2 separate regions of the Homo sapiens genome follow, and region 1 is linked to region 2. Evidence: promoter capture Hi-C in human tissues and cell types (Jung and others, 2019). All regions are on one chromosome and are shown on one strand. Each heading gives the region's core, a stretch centred on a gene start or on the middle of the fragment in contact. The rest is flanking DNA. Distances are from core to core; before and after follow the strand shown.

Region 1 (7,663 bases), core at 4,028-6,527, 550 kb before region 2:
CTAACAGAAGAAATGTAAGTGTTTGTGTTTGGCACAACGTATTTGTTTTTAAATCGTGCAATATACTTTTCTGTTTTCATGGCCAAATGATAATGGGTGAAATCTTAGTTTAATCAGTGTCATTAAGAATTAATACTTTGGCCAGGCACCGTGGTTCACGCCTGTAATCCCAATGCTTTGGGAGGCCGAGGCAGGCGGATCATGAGGTCAGGAGATTGAGACCATTCTGGCTAACACGGTAAAATCCCATCTCTACTAGAAATACCAAAAAAATTAGCCGGACGTGGTGGTGGACGCCTGTAGTCCCAGCTACTAGGGAGGCTGAGGCAGGAGAATGGCATGAACTCAGGAGGCGGAGCTTGCCGGGAGCCGAGATGGCGCCACTGCACTCCAGCCTGGGCGGAGTGAGACTCCGTCTCAAAAAAAAAACTAATACTTTATCCTACCTAGCATGTAACCTATAAGGTGATAGTGTGTTTCTGATTTGATTTTAATTCTATTAGAAGAAAAATCTAGAAAGATGCTTTCAGAGCTGTGTTAACATGGAAGTTAACAAAATTTGTTTGGGATCTATATGATTTTATGAATTTCGTTGAGGTGAAAATGGAGAAGATCAGCATGTAATTAACAGAACCAGAAAATAATATAAGTATAATCTTTTTTAAATTGTGCTTCAGTCTGTTTTTTAACACTGGGTTTCAACTGGGAGTTATATATAAGCATAACTCCCATTGAATGCATGTCTTTTGCTATTTCGTTAAATTAGATAAAATTTGGATTTTTGTTTATAACATCATAAAGTATAAACATATACTGTTATGGGGTATTTAGCTTATAGGGTTGGATATTAAACCCAGGATTCAAACCTAGATAATCTAAAAATTCATGATTTTTTTCCCCATAACCCAGTAGTTAGGTGCTAAATTGTAGGTTCTTAATGAGTAGTTGATGAGTGAATAAATTAACGAATTCTTAAGCTGTTTTTTCTTTCTTCCCTAATATAATTGGGTAATATATGTATACTTCTGGGTCTGCATTTGATAGTTCAGAAATTGGTAATTACCATTTCCACCAATTTTCATCAAAGTGCTTTTAATAAGGTTTGTGAATTAAGAATAAATGGGATCTAAAGTGGTAGAAGCATCCTGGGAAGCACAACAAGAGTGAGAGCAGCACATTAACATGTAATTGCTTGTGCTTTACGGTATCCTACTTTACACTTTCTTTATAGCAATTGGTCAGTGTTGTAGAAGAGAGTGTTTGCAACTTATTGAATACAGAAGTTCAGCCTTGTAAAGAAAAGAAAATTAATAGGAGGAAGTCTCAAGAAACAAAGTGTACAAAGAGAGCACTTCCTAAGAAGAGTCAGGTAAGCATGTGTTTAAAGATATAATAAAGAGTAGAAGTGGTGTGTTTCCTTATTGTATAATTAGGAAAATATAGAAACACATTTTTTTCCAGTTGACTTTGGACCAAGATTATTAATGCAATCTTACCGTGGAGTAGAATGGGGTGGGGGGGTTATGTACTTAACTCTGAATTGCCTAAGGAACACTTTTGCGTCTTCTTCATCTTCTTGTGTTGCGTACTTCCTGCACAGTAAATTAATAGGCACTCAAACCTGAAATTCTCATTCTCATCTTTGAATCTACCCCAACATATTACCCTATTGGGAATCCTGATTTTTTTAGGCAGGGATGAGTGTGCCGCTTGCTACTTCTTAGATTCTCTTCTTCCAGTTGCTGAATCAAATTTTTCCCTAAATTTAAGGGAAAGTTTAGAAACTAGCTCTCAGTCTTTCTTAACACTTCTGGTCGTCTCAGATACCCTTACAGTCCATGTGGTTAGCCAATTTAACACCTTAACCCAGTTCCTTTTCCTTCTCCAGCTCAGTGATCTGGACTCCACACTCCAAAGCCACCTACTCACTCTTGCTGCCATTCTTACAACTTGTTACTGCCCGTGTAGCAGTGCTCATTCTCTGACCCCCAACTTCCTGTCCATCCAGCCTATTCACTCTCTTACTCTGCAGTTCCTTCTGTACTGCTAAGCTTTCAGATACACCTGAAGTTCATGTTTCCCTCTTCATCCTGAACTGAGTGAACTGTTTCCAACTCTTGTCAGGAATCTCAATTCCGGATCCTTTTCCTTCCACCTCATCCATCCAGCAAAATTTCCAGTCTGACTGAGTTATCCTCTCTTCCATCTGACATAGCCCCTAGAGACACTCACACAGGAGTTGGGGATAGTACTACTACACATTCACTGACATCTGGCCTTCTTCTTCACCACTTTGCCGCTTCACTTCATTTTTAATACTAAAGCCAGTGCATACTTTTCAGTTCTGTTCTTAATGGACATCTTAGCATTTGACATGATGGAACACTCCTGTACAGTCTCTAAGGTTTGTTTTCTGTCCCCCATTGTTAAATGTTTGTGTTTTCCAGAATTCTCTTCTTTGCCCTTGTAAATTGTTTATCTTCTGGGTAATTTCATACACAGCATGGTTAATGACCATATATGAAGACCAGAACTTCCTGATCTGTAAATCTGTGTTCAACTACGTACTAGACATCTGTCTTTAACCATGCTATGTCAAAATCAGCATTTCTAAAACTAAACTTATCAACCTATACACCCACCCAAAACATTCCGTAAACTTCCTTCCCCCTCTATGAAATAAAAATGACTGCTTTTCTTGGTTGAGTAGCACAGATATCCTTAAGTCATTAAATCCGGAAGGAACTAGGTGTTTTCCTGCTTTAGTTCCTTTTTAGGTCACACACTCTTGATAAAATGATGAAAGATTATCTTGCTGAAAAAATACCATTAATTCAAAAATATACATACAACTTATTACATTAGAAATTGATTTCCTTCGTGTGTGTGTGTATATATATTTTAAAGCACTCTTACAAAGAATATACACCTATTCATATAAAATTACGGCCAGAAAGTACAAAAAGGATTGAGCATTAAGTCACTGCAATCCCTCCCAGGACCTTGCTGAATTAATACCATTTAGGTACTAAAAGGAATACACTTAGAATAGCAATGAGAGGAGGAAAGGGATGAGGAGGGGTATTGAGAAGCCGACGACAGCCTTCAATGAATTTCTAGAAGACCAAGCAGATGGGAGCATGTTGACAGATAAAAAAAGGTGGAAAGATTTACAGTTCAGAATGTGCTAGGAGGGAGCTAGAGAGGAGCTGGGAGCCGGCCTGTTCATGGGAATCCCAGGAGACCCTGGCCCAGAATTGGCAGGTACGATGGATGGTGAGAGTGAGAGGTGGTACTGAAAAACAGAGAAATGAATTGAAGTCCTATACGTGGGACAGTTTGCACCAGTTGGCACACCAGCCTCCTCCCACCCTGATGCTCAGAACAGATGTTGTCATCTAGATTAAAGCCCTCATTCTGGCATTTGGAAAGTCCCACAGTCTTGACAGCCAGCTCTTGCCCTAATGCAAATCCTGACAGTTGACCCTCCAGTATTCTGCCCCACCCTAGGTAGGATTTCCACGCAGGAAAGAGACTGAGCTGGAAAGCAGAGGAAACCTATATACCAACTTACCCAATCTTAAATAAGAAACAAGGCAATTGAATAGAACAAATAGCATGAAAGTGAAAAGACCAATGTTAATAAGGTTAAAAACTGACTTCAGAGAAATAGGTTATTCAAGGAATAGAAGGAAATTTTACATACATAAATACTCCACTCCAATTTAAGAAAATATCATCTGCATAAAAGTAAGGAGATACTATGAAAAAGGAATTGCAAAAACATAAAATTTAGTAGTTGGACAAAAGAATTAAAGTTAAGGAAAGTCTCCCAGAAGATAGAGCAAAAGAAAGACTGGAAACGAGAATCTAGGAGACACCATAGGACTCTTAGGAAAAAGAAGGAGAAAATAGAATGGGAGAAGTCATCCAAATAAAAGAAGAGGATTTCCCAAAAATAGAATGGAAGAAATTATTCAAATAAGAGGATTTCCTAGAACTGAAGAAAGGAGTCTTCAAGTTAAAAGCGCCCACTGAATAACTGGTACAATGAAGAAGGGCCAGGGGGTAGGCCTGTAACTGTGAAACTGAACAATAAGGATAATGAGGAAAGTGGGCTTTTCCTACAGAGAAATAAGAACCAGAGTGGCATCAAGACTAGCAATAGCCGGAAAGCTACAAAATCATACAAGAGTTCATTTAAAGCTTAGAAGAAAATTTCAACCGAGTATTCTACACCCAGCCAGTCTCAATTAAGTGTGAAGGAAAAAATAAAAGACATTTGAGTGTTTCTTTTTTTCTTTTCTTTTTATTTTGAGAGAAGGTCTCACTCTCACCCAGGCTGGAGTGTAGTGCTGTGGTCACTGCTTACTGCATGCTTGACCTCCCTGGCTCAAGTGATCCTCCCACCTCAGCCTCTTGAGTAGCTGGGACTACAGGTGCACGCCACCACGCTTGGCTAGTGTTTTTTGTTTGTTTTTTGTTTTTCTTTTGAGATGAACTCTTGCTCTGTTGCCCAGGCTGGAGTGCAGTGATGCATGATCTTGGCTCACCACAACCTCCACCTCCTGGGTTCAAGCAATTCTCCTGCCTCAGCCTCCCAGTTAGCTGGGACTACAGGAACGCACCACCATGCTCGGCTAATTTTTGTATTTTTAGTAAAGACGGGGTTTCACTATGTTAGCCAGGCTGGTCTCAAACTCCTGACCTCATGATCTGCCTTCCTCGGCCTCCCAAAGTGCTGGGATTACAGGCGTGAGCCACCACGCCTGGCTGGCTAATTTTTTTTTACTTTCTTGAAGCAGCGGGGGGTTGGGGGGTCTCACCTTGTTGCCCAGGCTGGTCTCAGACTCTTCCTGGGCTCAATCACTTCTCTCACCCCAGCTTCCCAAAGTGCTGGGATTACAGGCTTGAGCCAACATGCCCAGCCAGAAAGTTATTTTTCTTTGGATGCTACTGGAGGAGGAACTCTAGCAAAATGAGGAACTAAGCTTAAGAATTCAGGACACAACGGATCTAACAATACAAGAGCGCAATCAAAGGGAAATCGCTGGTTGTAGCTGTTCAGCCAGCCTAGAAGAGCAACCAGTCCAAATTTGAGCAGGGAGAAGGAGCTGGAGCTAAAAAACGGAAAAGACCTGTGATTGAAAGAATGAATGGTATGAAAGGTATGTCACATAAGAAAAAAACGGTAATTATATACCATTTCAAATAAAAGTCTATATAAAAGTTTTAGAGTAAATATGAAGGAAACATTACTGTGATTTCAAGCAATAATGCAGTATAAGGAAAAGTAGATTTTATAGTGCTAGGAATCATCTCCCTCAAGGGGCCCGGAGGAGAAGAAAAGAGTATGAAAGCTGTACTTGGCAGAGCCGTGAAAAATGTTTGCAGTCATAATAATACAGATGCTATTTGTTTTCAACTAAGGACGAAGCTTTTAACAACTTGGTTGTTGTGCAGGACAATGTGAGTATTAACAATCTAATGATAGGAAAATGTAGTTAATAGCAGAAGGTGAAAAGTGAGTTAAGGTAGAAACAAGGGGGCTAATGGTGTGCTGGTAAGAGTGCAGACTCTGGACCAGACCCCTGGGTTTAAATCCTGGGTTCATTCCTGCCTCCAGTGCAATGCTGGGTAAAATTCTGGACTCTGTTTTGTTTGTGTGTTTGTTTGTTTGTAAAACAGTGGTGGAAATGGATGTTAGAAGCTTCTGAATCTTAATGAATTCATGCATGCTCAACTCTTAGAACAGTGCCTGGCCATAGTAAGCTTTGTGGTCATTATCATCATTATCATGAGACATTCAAGATATATATTTTAAAATTTAATGAAAAGAAATAGAAATATAAAAGTTCAATGTTTACCAACTGAAGAGCCACAATTAACATAGAAAAGAGGCAGGTTTGGTTTTAAATGAGCAGTTTTTTCATCTTTCATAGCAAGATGTTGACAGATAACTAAAATTAGATTAAATGCCACTTCTCAACCAGAAGTAGCATTAGAATCCTCAAGAGTAAATTCCTTTATAAACCAGAAATGGAGAAAGTTCCCAAAGTGTGACTCAAAAACCAGAAACAGTGAGGGCAAAGGATTGGTGAATTTGATATCTTTTGAACCATACAGCATGGAGCATGCGTAAGGAAAAAAATCCCCATAAGAAAATTTAAAAGACAAAGAACAAGCTTGGGAAAAGTATTTGCAACTCATATCAGACACCAAGGATTAATGTCACTAATATTTGAAGAGCTTCTAAATTACTTAGAAAGGAACAGTCTTCAAAAGATAACAAAACATTTACAAAACTGAAATGAAAATGACCTTCAGCACAGGAAGAAAATGTTCAGACTTCCTCATCATAAGAGAATTGCAGCTGTAACGTGCATTGAGATGCCGTTTCTCACCTTTTAGATTACCAAAAATCTGAAAGTTGACAGCATACTCACGTGGTAAGGCTATGGGGCAAACAGGCACACTCATACATTTTCTGCTAAAGCAGACCTCTGTGGAGGAGTATTTGGCAGTATCTGGCCAAATTAAATACTCATTTGTCCTTTGACCCAACAGGCCTATTTCTAGGAATCCATCTCAAAGATCCACTGATCAAAATACAAAAATATATGTTTATTTATTGCAGCATTCTTTGTAAAGCAAAAGACTAAAAGCAAACCATATGCTCATCAATATGAGACTTGTTGAAAAAACTATGGTGTTTCCACAAAGCGAGTATTAGGCAGCTGTAGAAAGTTGTGAAGAGAACTTCCATACACTTCTATACAGTGATGCCAAGGGGACACAGATGGCCCTCTATATACTGTTGTCCAGCATCTGTGGTTGGTTGAATCAAAAACACTCAGGGCTGGGTGAGGTGGCTCACACCTGTAATCTCAGCACTTTGGGAGGCTGATATTGGAGGATTGCTTGAGGCCAGTAGTGCGAGACCAGCCTGGTCAACATAGCACAACCCCATCTGTATTTTCTTAATATATTACTTAAAAAAAAAAATTCAGAAAAACCCAATAACAATACAACAATTAAAAAAATAAAAATTTTAAAATACAGCATATTAACTATGTAGCATTTATATTGTACTTGGTGTTAAGTCATCTAGAGATGCTTTAAAGCATAGTTATTATGCTGTATTTTTACAGTATAATGCTGTAAAAGGAAGTTTACATATGCTCTATGCAAATACTGTGCCATTTTATGTCGGGGACTTGAGTATCTGCAGATTTTTGGTATCCACAGGAGGTCCTGGAACCAATTTCCCTACAGATACTGAGGGATGACTGTGTTTACTGTTAAAATGAAAAAAGCATGTTATAAAACAATATATGTGGTCAACTACTGGTTATGGACTGAATTGTGTCCCTTCCCAAATTTATATATTGAAGTCCTAACTCCCAGGATCTCAGAATGTGACTGTATTTGGAGATTTGGTCTTTAAAATAGTTATTAATTTAAAATGAGATCCATAGGGTGGGTCCTAATCCACTCTGACTGGTGTTCTTATAAGAGGAGGAAATTCGGACCCACATAAGGACACCAGGGACGAGTGTGCATTGAGAAATAACCATGTGAGGACACAGCAAGAAGGTGGCCATCTGAAGGCCAAGGAGAGAGGCCCCAAGAGACACCAGCCCTGCCAACACCCTGATCTTGC
Region 2 (7,432 bases), core at 4,278-6,777:
ACACTCTGCGCCCGTCTGCCCGCGAGGCCTCCCAGCTGCGAGCGCTCAGTCCTGAAAGTTAGTCCCGGGAACGCGGCGCGCCAAGGCGGGGCTGGAGCACCTGCGGGCTCTCCAGGAAGGCCTGGGAAAAGGCGGCTCTTACCTACACATCACTTCGTGCGTCAGGAGAACTCGGCACATTTCCGGATTCTTATTCTGTCCCTCGTAAGCGATGGGCTGTGAAGGAGGTAGTGGCAGGAAAGGAAGATGTGGAGAGGGGTGGGGGGCAAGGAAAGAAGGGACTTCAGAACAAGCACAACATCGCTTTCCCTCCCACTACCTGCCACCGCATTAGGAATTCCCGCCCGCAGCACATTCTGCGCGGTTGCCGAGTTTGGACTCGACTGAAATCATAGAGAAGTTTGCCCCAGTGAGAACATCATTCTTAGCAAAATGGAATGTTTGCGGGAACTGAATCTCCCAATAATTGTTTCCTCTCCATCCTTTTTGTTCGCCTCTTACTGCCCCCAGGGTTTCCCTGAGCCAGACAAAACAGGTCACTTGGTGAGACAGGGAAGAAAAAAAAAAAAAAATCTTCCCTAGCAGACAAGGTGCTGGGAGGGGGACGTGGAGGGGGCTGTGGAGTCTGACCCAGGAAATCGTGGAGGAGGGGCAGGTCAGAAACAAACTGGGGGGTTTGGGGGTCGGGGTCAGAGACAGGCGAAGAGAAGCCAAGTGGCCTCCGGCTCACCTGCTTGGTGACCGAGTCGATGAGCCTGACATAGAGGTCCTGTTCCGTGCGGACACCTGCGGGGACCGGAGGGGCACGAGTCAAGGGCCGTAGAGCCCCTTCCGGGCACCCCAAACCCTTCTCTGCCATGGGTCTGAGGCCCAAGCAGCCTCTCCATGCTGAGCCGCCCTGGAGACGGTGACCTCCCAATCCCCTGTCCCAGGCAAGCCTCCCGCCGCCCTGGGCTCCATGCGATCCCTGAGAGTGATCATGGCAAGGTCAGCGCGTGCGGCCCGGAAGCCGGCTGCTAGGCGCCGGCTCACCGTTGCTGTAGAAGAGCTCACCGTTGCTGTAGAGGAGCTGTAACTTGTAGTGAGTGCCGTTGTTGGTCTTCTCGTTGCCTTGTTCCTGAAAAGACAGGCAGCGTTCGATTCCCTTGCCTTTCAGCCCCCCAAAATGAGGGAAAGAGGAGACAGTGAATCCCCACCTCACATCCCTTCTCCCCATCAAAAGGCAGCTTTGAGTAACCCCCTGTTCAGCCCTAGGTCAAAGGGCATGAGCATCTGCCTGTCCTTGGCCGCCCCCGGAAACTTGCCAAGACTCGTAGCCACTTGACCCTTTCCAGCCCTCTGTCTCCCTTAAAAATGTCCTCAGAAGTGTGACCCTTGAGCTTCCGACAACAGGACCACTTGCCAAAGCTGCCTTTAAACAGGCACCACCCAACCCATCGGGCTCTGTCTGTCCTTAGGAAGCCCCAAGGCTTCCCTTGGCAGAAAAGTGAAGGGACTTGTCATTTGGAAAGGCAGCATTCGGGCCTATCCCGCGAGGACTGCGCACGCAGGGCCACGAGCTCAGGGACTGAGTTCCAGGTTCAGGAGGGACTTTGGGAAGTGCCTACTCTAAAGCTCACATTGTACAGCTGGGGACACGGAGACCCGGAAAGGGCAAGGGATTTTCCTTTGGTCACACATAGGTTTCGGCGGACTGTCCTTCATTTGAGACCGAACCCAGCCCCCAATTCCAGGCTTGAGTTTGGAGGAGGCGCTGCCTTGGAGAACAGAACAGGAGAGAAGACACGGCCAGAAGGCAGGCCAAGGCTGGGCTGCCGGTTTCCACTTAGTGCCGCAACTCAGGCCACCTGGCTCTCGCAGGTGCAAAATAATTAAAATTAACCCAGAGAAGGGGAGCGGCGGCCTTGGGTGTACTTTTTAACTAGTCCAAGGGGCGTTTGCTCCGCCGTCAGTCCATAACCAGGCGCTACTAAGGCCTCCAGGCTCGGTGCGCAGAGCCGGGAGCGCTCCTCCAGCTCCAGGTTGGGGGAGTCGGGGTGGGAGGAGGTTCGGGAAATCGACTGATTTAGAGGCTGGGGGTGAGTAGCCTCGATTTATCATCCCTGATGGTGAGAGTGGAAAAGTGTCGCGAGAGTGACAGATGGAATCTTTAGTGCTTCGCAAGAGGGAGTTATTAGGCCGCGGGGTTTGGGGGGTACTTTCCGCTTACTTTGTCATTCTCCACAAAGTCCACGAAGGCCGTCCGCTCGATCTCCACCGGCTGGCCCTGCCTGTCATAGAGCGCCAGGACGAAGTGAAAGAAGTTGGATTTCCTCAAGTTGGAAGGAGGCTGTTTCTCAAAGTGGGCCCGGGACAGGGCGACCCCGCTGCACAGGGAGAAAAACGGGGGAACACAAGACACGGGGAAGCACAAAAAGGCGATGTTACTAACCGCCCACAACACTGCAGAGGGGTAAGGGGTCCACTTCCCAGGTCCAGAGTTCTGAACCCTTCGGGCCTTTTTTCCAATTCGGATAAGGAAGAGGAGACTCCTTAAAGGAGTCACCGTGGCCACGGGGGTTGGGTGGCAGGGTTGATACCTGGGGTCTCTGACACCACCAAGTGGTCCGGCATCCCACCGCTGGGCCACTCACCATCCCGTCTTTAGTCGAAACCGAAAGACCCCGGCTGCAGACAGAGGCCCAGAGTGGTCCCCTAAGGAGGTGGCCCGCGTCCTATACCGTGGGGCTGTCTCCATCCACTCCCTCAGGTGGTACTGCTGGGTGTATCAGGATGCAGAGCTGGGGCCCAGGGTTAGGGGAATAAGTGCCTCCTTTGCTTTGGAAGAAGCGACCCTTTTATTTAGTATTAATTCGAGTTATCAGTCCTGGACCCACTGCTCACAACGCCCAAATGCTGACTGGGAAAGGTAGTGGGTAAGAACCCCAAGGGGCAGGCGGGAGAGTAACACAGAGTCCAGGTCTGGGTCCTTGGGCTGCTTGCCTCGCTCTTCCGAAAAGTTGTGCCTGGGACAGAGACAGGGCGGAATCCTCGCGACCAGCCCCGGGGATCGCTGGCCACCACAAATGAGATGACCGACATAGGGGGCCCTCCCTCCCAGAGGTGCTAGGTGGGGAAAAGCCAAACTGTTAAAAGGCGAGAACCTCCTTTCCTGGGGCCAACGCGATCCCCACTCATGCTGCGTTTTCTGGCGGCGCCAGCCGAACCCAGTGACTGTGAAACCCAAGTTGGGGGACCCGGAAGGCGCCCTCGAGCGTGCTGAGTGTGTGCACACGCTTCCCAGCCAACCGGTCGCAGTCACAGCCCACCTGGCCATCAGATCCCATTTCACCGAAGACTTGGGGCTGAGGTGAACGCACAGATTGCGGGAGCTGCCCTGCGGCGCTGGGGTCTCCCAGGTTGAACCCCGGTGCGCAAGCACCTTCATTCACTCTTTTGAAAGGGGTAACATTTTGGCTAAGCTCTCCCCCACTAAGTCTGCTCCTTCCAGCTTCAACAAACTTTTTGATCCCGGGAAGGAAGGAAAGCGAGGGAGGCGTCTTTAAGGAGCCCAGCTAAGGAAATGCGCGGCACAGTTGGCTCTGCGGTGCTGCCTTATTTCCCTTAGCTCGCAGGCGGGCCAGTCCCGAAGCGCTGCGGAAAGCCGCGGCCGCCGCGCTGTGCGGTCTGCCGGAGGGAAATCCGCGCTCCCCGGGCCACAGGAGGGAGGGAACCGCCGCCGGCCCAAGTCCCGGAGCGATAAAACTTCTGCTTTCTCCGCTCCAAGGGTAGAGGCCGGTTCGCTCTACCCGGGACACCTGGCCAGTTTGGGAAAGGGATCATTTCTCCGTGTGATGTTGGCACTTAAATGTGGGTGGCCAGGAGGGCAGCAGGGGAAGCGAGGGTAGTGGAAGAAGTTCATCGGCTCTTTGGGGGTAGAAGGGCTGCCTCTCTCGCAGACAAGGACCTGGAGGCCACAAATCCCAACTCAGTAGTGGTGATGAGAGAGTGGGACCGTAATGTCTTCGTAGGGTGGCACCCCGGACATGGTATTTACTATCCCAGCACGCAGACGCCTAAACACAAAGTCAACTTCAGGGATCCGCAAAACCAGAGGCTGGCGATCCCTGAGCCAGTCTAGCTGCTGGTGGCCTTTTCTCGCCTCTTTCTTCTTCCGCAACTCTTTCTACTGTGACTCAGTATTTTCTCTTCTTTTAAATCTCTTCTTTTCTCCAGTTCCCTAGCTCCGTTCGTCTGGCTCACTGTTTTATCTTTGAGCCGGGACCCTCCAGCCTGTCCCCCCTCCCAGAGCTCCCGGCCGCCTCGTCTTCCCGGGCAGCCGCTCCGGCTTTTCCCGCTCCCCTCGCCGCCGCCACCCTCTGGCCGCCGGCCTCCCAGGCTCCAGGAATCGCCCAGCAAGATGCGGGAGGTAGGCGCTCGCAGGCGGCGTGGCGAAGCCAAGAGTGGCCAGGAAGCCGGCTTTCCTCCCGCGCCGCCACTGCCAGCGCCGGTGTTCACGCTCCGTTCGGGGCCAGGCCGGCTCGGCTTGCAGGACTAGGGGCTGAGCTGGGAGATGTTGGGGGCTACTTTATTTTTCCTTGCAAAGAGTGGACTGTGGTAAAGGAGAGGGAGAGAAACGCCTACGACCCAGGCAGTTCAGGAACTCGAGTGCCGGCTGCCGGGTGAGCGTTCGCCTGACTGCAGCGATCTGCTTGCCCGAGGGCGAGCCCCAGCGCGCAGGGCCTGGGCGACAGATGGGGGGACAGGGAGAGAGAAAGGCACGGGGTGCGCGGGGGGGGTGCACACGGAGAGACAGACCGTAAGAGCGAGAGACAGCATAATAATTGCGCGGCCGTGTCGTTACCTCTGCGCGGCGACATTAGCGTCCACCACTCCGACATTCCGGACCCAGGACCTGACCGAATCCATCTCCGCGCCCAGCGATTTCTCTTTCAGAGTTGGTCCTCTTCCTAAAGTATCTTGAATTCCAAACATTTAAAAAGTCTGATCCTCTACTGTCGCTTTAAAAGTAAGAGTTACAACACAGTCCTGACTGTTCCCAACGTTGCCAGCAAATCGTCTCCTCCAAAGCAATCCAAGAAAAGGGATCAAGTGCCCAAGTTTGAGTCTTAGAAAAAAAAAAAAGATAACCCGTCCTTTGCTTCACTGGCGAGGTGCGGACTGATGTAGTCAAAGTTTGGGTTCTTATCCTCCGCAAGTTCAGATCTGCCGCCTCAGCCACTCCACCCTAGGTCGCTCGCATCCTTCCAGCTGCAGTGCTGCCTCCTGAAAGTGATCACAATTTAGAAGCATCACCTGTTCTGGGAGAAACTGGAGGAAATTGATGGCTGCCTAATCTCTCCCCTTCCTCCAGGTCCCCCCTCCCTGCTCCTCCCCACCGTTCCAATTTAGAAAAAAAAAAAATCCCCAACAGGATCAGTTGTAAAAAGAAGGGGAAGACCTGGAGCCGAGAGGAGGCGGTGGCTGCGAGCGCCACGGAGCCCGGCTGCAGCCGCGCGCGGGCCCCATGAATGGGTTACTACGGCCCTGGCTGCGGGAGGCGGAGCTGCGGCCCGATAAGGAGCCTCATTTGCATGGACGCGCGGGATTGGCCGGCGCCTGGCAAGCCGGGCCGACGTCCTCCGGCGGCGCGCGCCACGCTCTGCGTTGCCGGGACTCCGGGAGGTGAAAGGGGACAGAAAGCTGCGGGCGTCGAGTCCTAGCACGAACCCCGTGTGCTTGCGCAGGATTGGGGGGCCCCCACACCCTGCACTGACTTAGGGTAGCAGGTCTCTGCGGGCTGGGGACGCAGGGGTTCGGCCTGGCTGCGGGAAGCCTCCCTGGATCCTGCCTCTAGATGTAGGCTTTTGTAGCCTGCCGGGAGGCACGTTCGTTCCCGGGGTTCGGATCTGTGTGCATGCTTGTGAGCGTGGCCACATGTGCTTATGTTTTGCGCAAACGTCCCCCAGAGCACCCAGCTCCCTGAATGGCTCCCCAGGTCTCCTGGAGTTCCATGGTGATATCAGATGTTGTGTGCGGCTTGCACGTTGCTGAGAGTGGAGAACATATGAAAGAAGGCGGGGGATGGGGTGGGGCGGACAAGCGAGGGGCAAGTGCTGCTCAAATACAGTGCTGGGGAAAACGGTCCAGGACCTAAGGAAAACACCCGCGGGCGGGCGGGCGCGAGCGGCAGTCGCACCCGTGTGGAGGAGAGGTTGCTGACAGATCGAGGCGGGCTGAGTGCGCGAGCGGCCGGGGAGTATTCCCGCGGGTCCTCCGGTTCCCTCCCCACCTCTCCGTTCCCGAAGCCCCCGGTAGTGGGCGGGGAGGGACGGGGGAGTCGTGGAAACTTCGCCCACCGCGCGCGGTCGCCGCGGTGCTGGCCGCGGGCTGGTGGCCGGCAGGCGGTGGCAGCAGCCTCACCGAACAGCTGAAACCCTAGACGGTTTTTTAACTGCGCGGGGCTGCTCGCGGTGCCTATTAAACATCCTCCTGGCTGGGTGTCATTTTCTTGCTTCTCCTTTTGTATTCTGATCTGCGCATAGATCTGCTGCTGCTGAAATCTAGAACACCAGCGCGAAAACAGATTTGAAGACAATGAATGCAAATCTGTGCTCAAAGACCATCTGCCGTGGAGGAGACAATCAGCTGTTCGTAGTTCGAGCGATTGCGCCCCAGTCTCCCGGTCTCATTACGGGGAGGGCATTTGCGAGCGCCTGGACTGCGTTCAGGGCACTTTCTCCCCTCTTGGGTCTCAGATTTGAGAGACCAGATCCCTTAGGTGTAGGTGAGCGCTCGCAAATGAACTGCTAGAGTTTGCCGCTAGAGGACACAGCGCCTTGCAACTGGTTTGCCTAGGCTGACAGGAAGCTTGCACTTCAAGAAAACTCGGCTCTCTCGAGAAAGGGACCGGTGCGCGCCTCCACCTCCCCAAGGGACAAACCGCGGCACCACGCTGCGTGCGCGGGATTGCGACTAGGAAGTGCTGGTCCGAACTGCGGAGATTCGCTTGAAAACGGATAGGGGGTTAGGGAGTTTGCGGGGCGGGTGCACGGACCGTCTCTGCACAGGCCCCGGGATCCAGGGACTGGGGTCATTGATTTGGGGGAAGGTAGAGAAGGTAAACCCCCCGCCTCTGGGTTGTGTTGACTGTGGTACCCCGACCCCAGAGCTCTGGCTTGGTCCTCCCTGTTGGACTGGAAGGGGCGGGAGAGCCATACAGGGCGATTGGGAAATGGATCGGGTGGCTAGTAAAAGCCAAGTAAGACAGGAGTGTCCAAAGGAAGAAGGGGGTAGGGAGGGAAATTTGTAGGGATGAGATTCACTGCCCTGTTTCAACTCGGCAATTCTCTGTTACATGCAGGTTTTACGGAGAATTTCGGTCCCAGCAAAAACTGATCACCTGGAGTCTTCTACGGTCTCTCTTTATAAATCTCTCCGAACCTCAAGCAAC

What was found. Contacts are between HindIII fragments. The study calls those that stand out against the background at their distance.
Region 1: a contact is called between a fragment that was not itself captured here and the fragment with the promoter of EBF2 in region 2, in 1 of the 25 tissues and cell types used here (dorsolateral prefrontal cortex).

Annotation. Positions count from the first base shown.
Region 1 is chr8:25,487,321-25,494,983 of GRCh38, forward strand. It overlaps CDCA2 (cell division cycle associated 2), which reads left to right. Exons shown (of 15, transcript NM_152562.4): 12 at 1-14; 13 at 1,232-1,369. Among named protein-coding and RNA genes, the nearest start is that of CDCA2, 32 kb to the left of the region's middle. RefSeq lists an enhancer at 4,096-4,596. The HindIII fragment of the contact is 4,299 bases long and covers 3,129-7,427 here.
Region 2 is chr8:26,039,886-26,047,317 of GRCh38, forward strand. It overlaps EBF2 (EBF transcription factor 2), which reads right to left and starts at 5,528. Exons shown (of 16, transcript NM_022659.4): 1 at 4,844-5,528; 2 at 2,210-2,366; 3 at 1,054-1,117; 4 at 731-786; 5 at 143-216. The coding sequence starts at 4,974. RefSeq lists a silencer at 3,448-3,742. The HindIII fragment of the contact is 15,996 bases long and covers 1-7,432 here.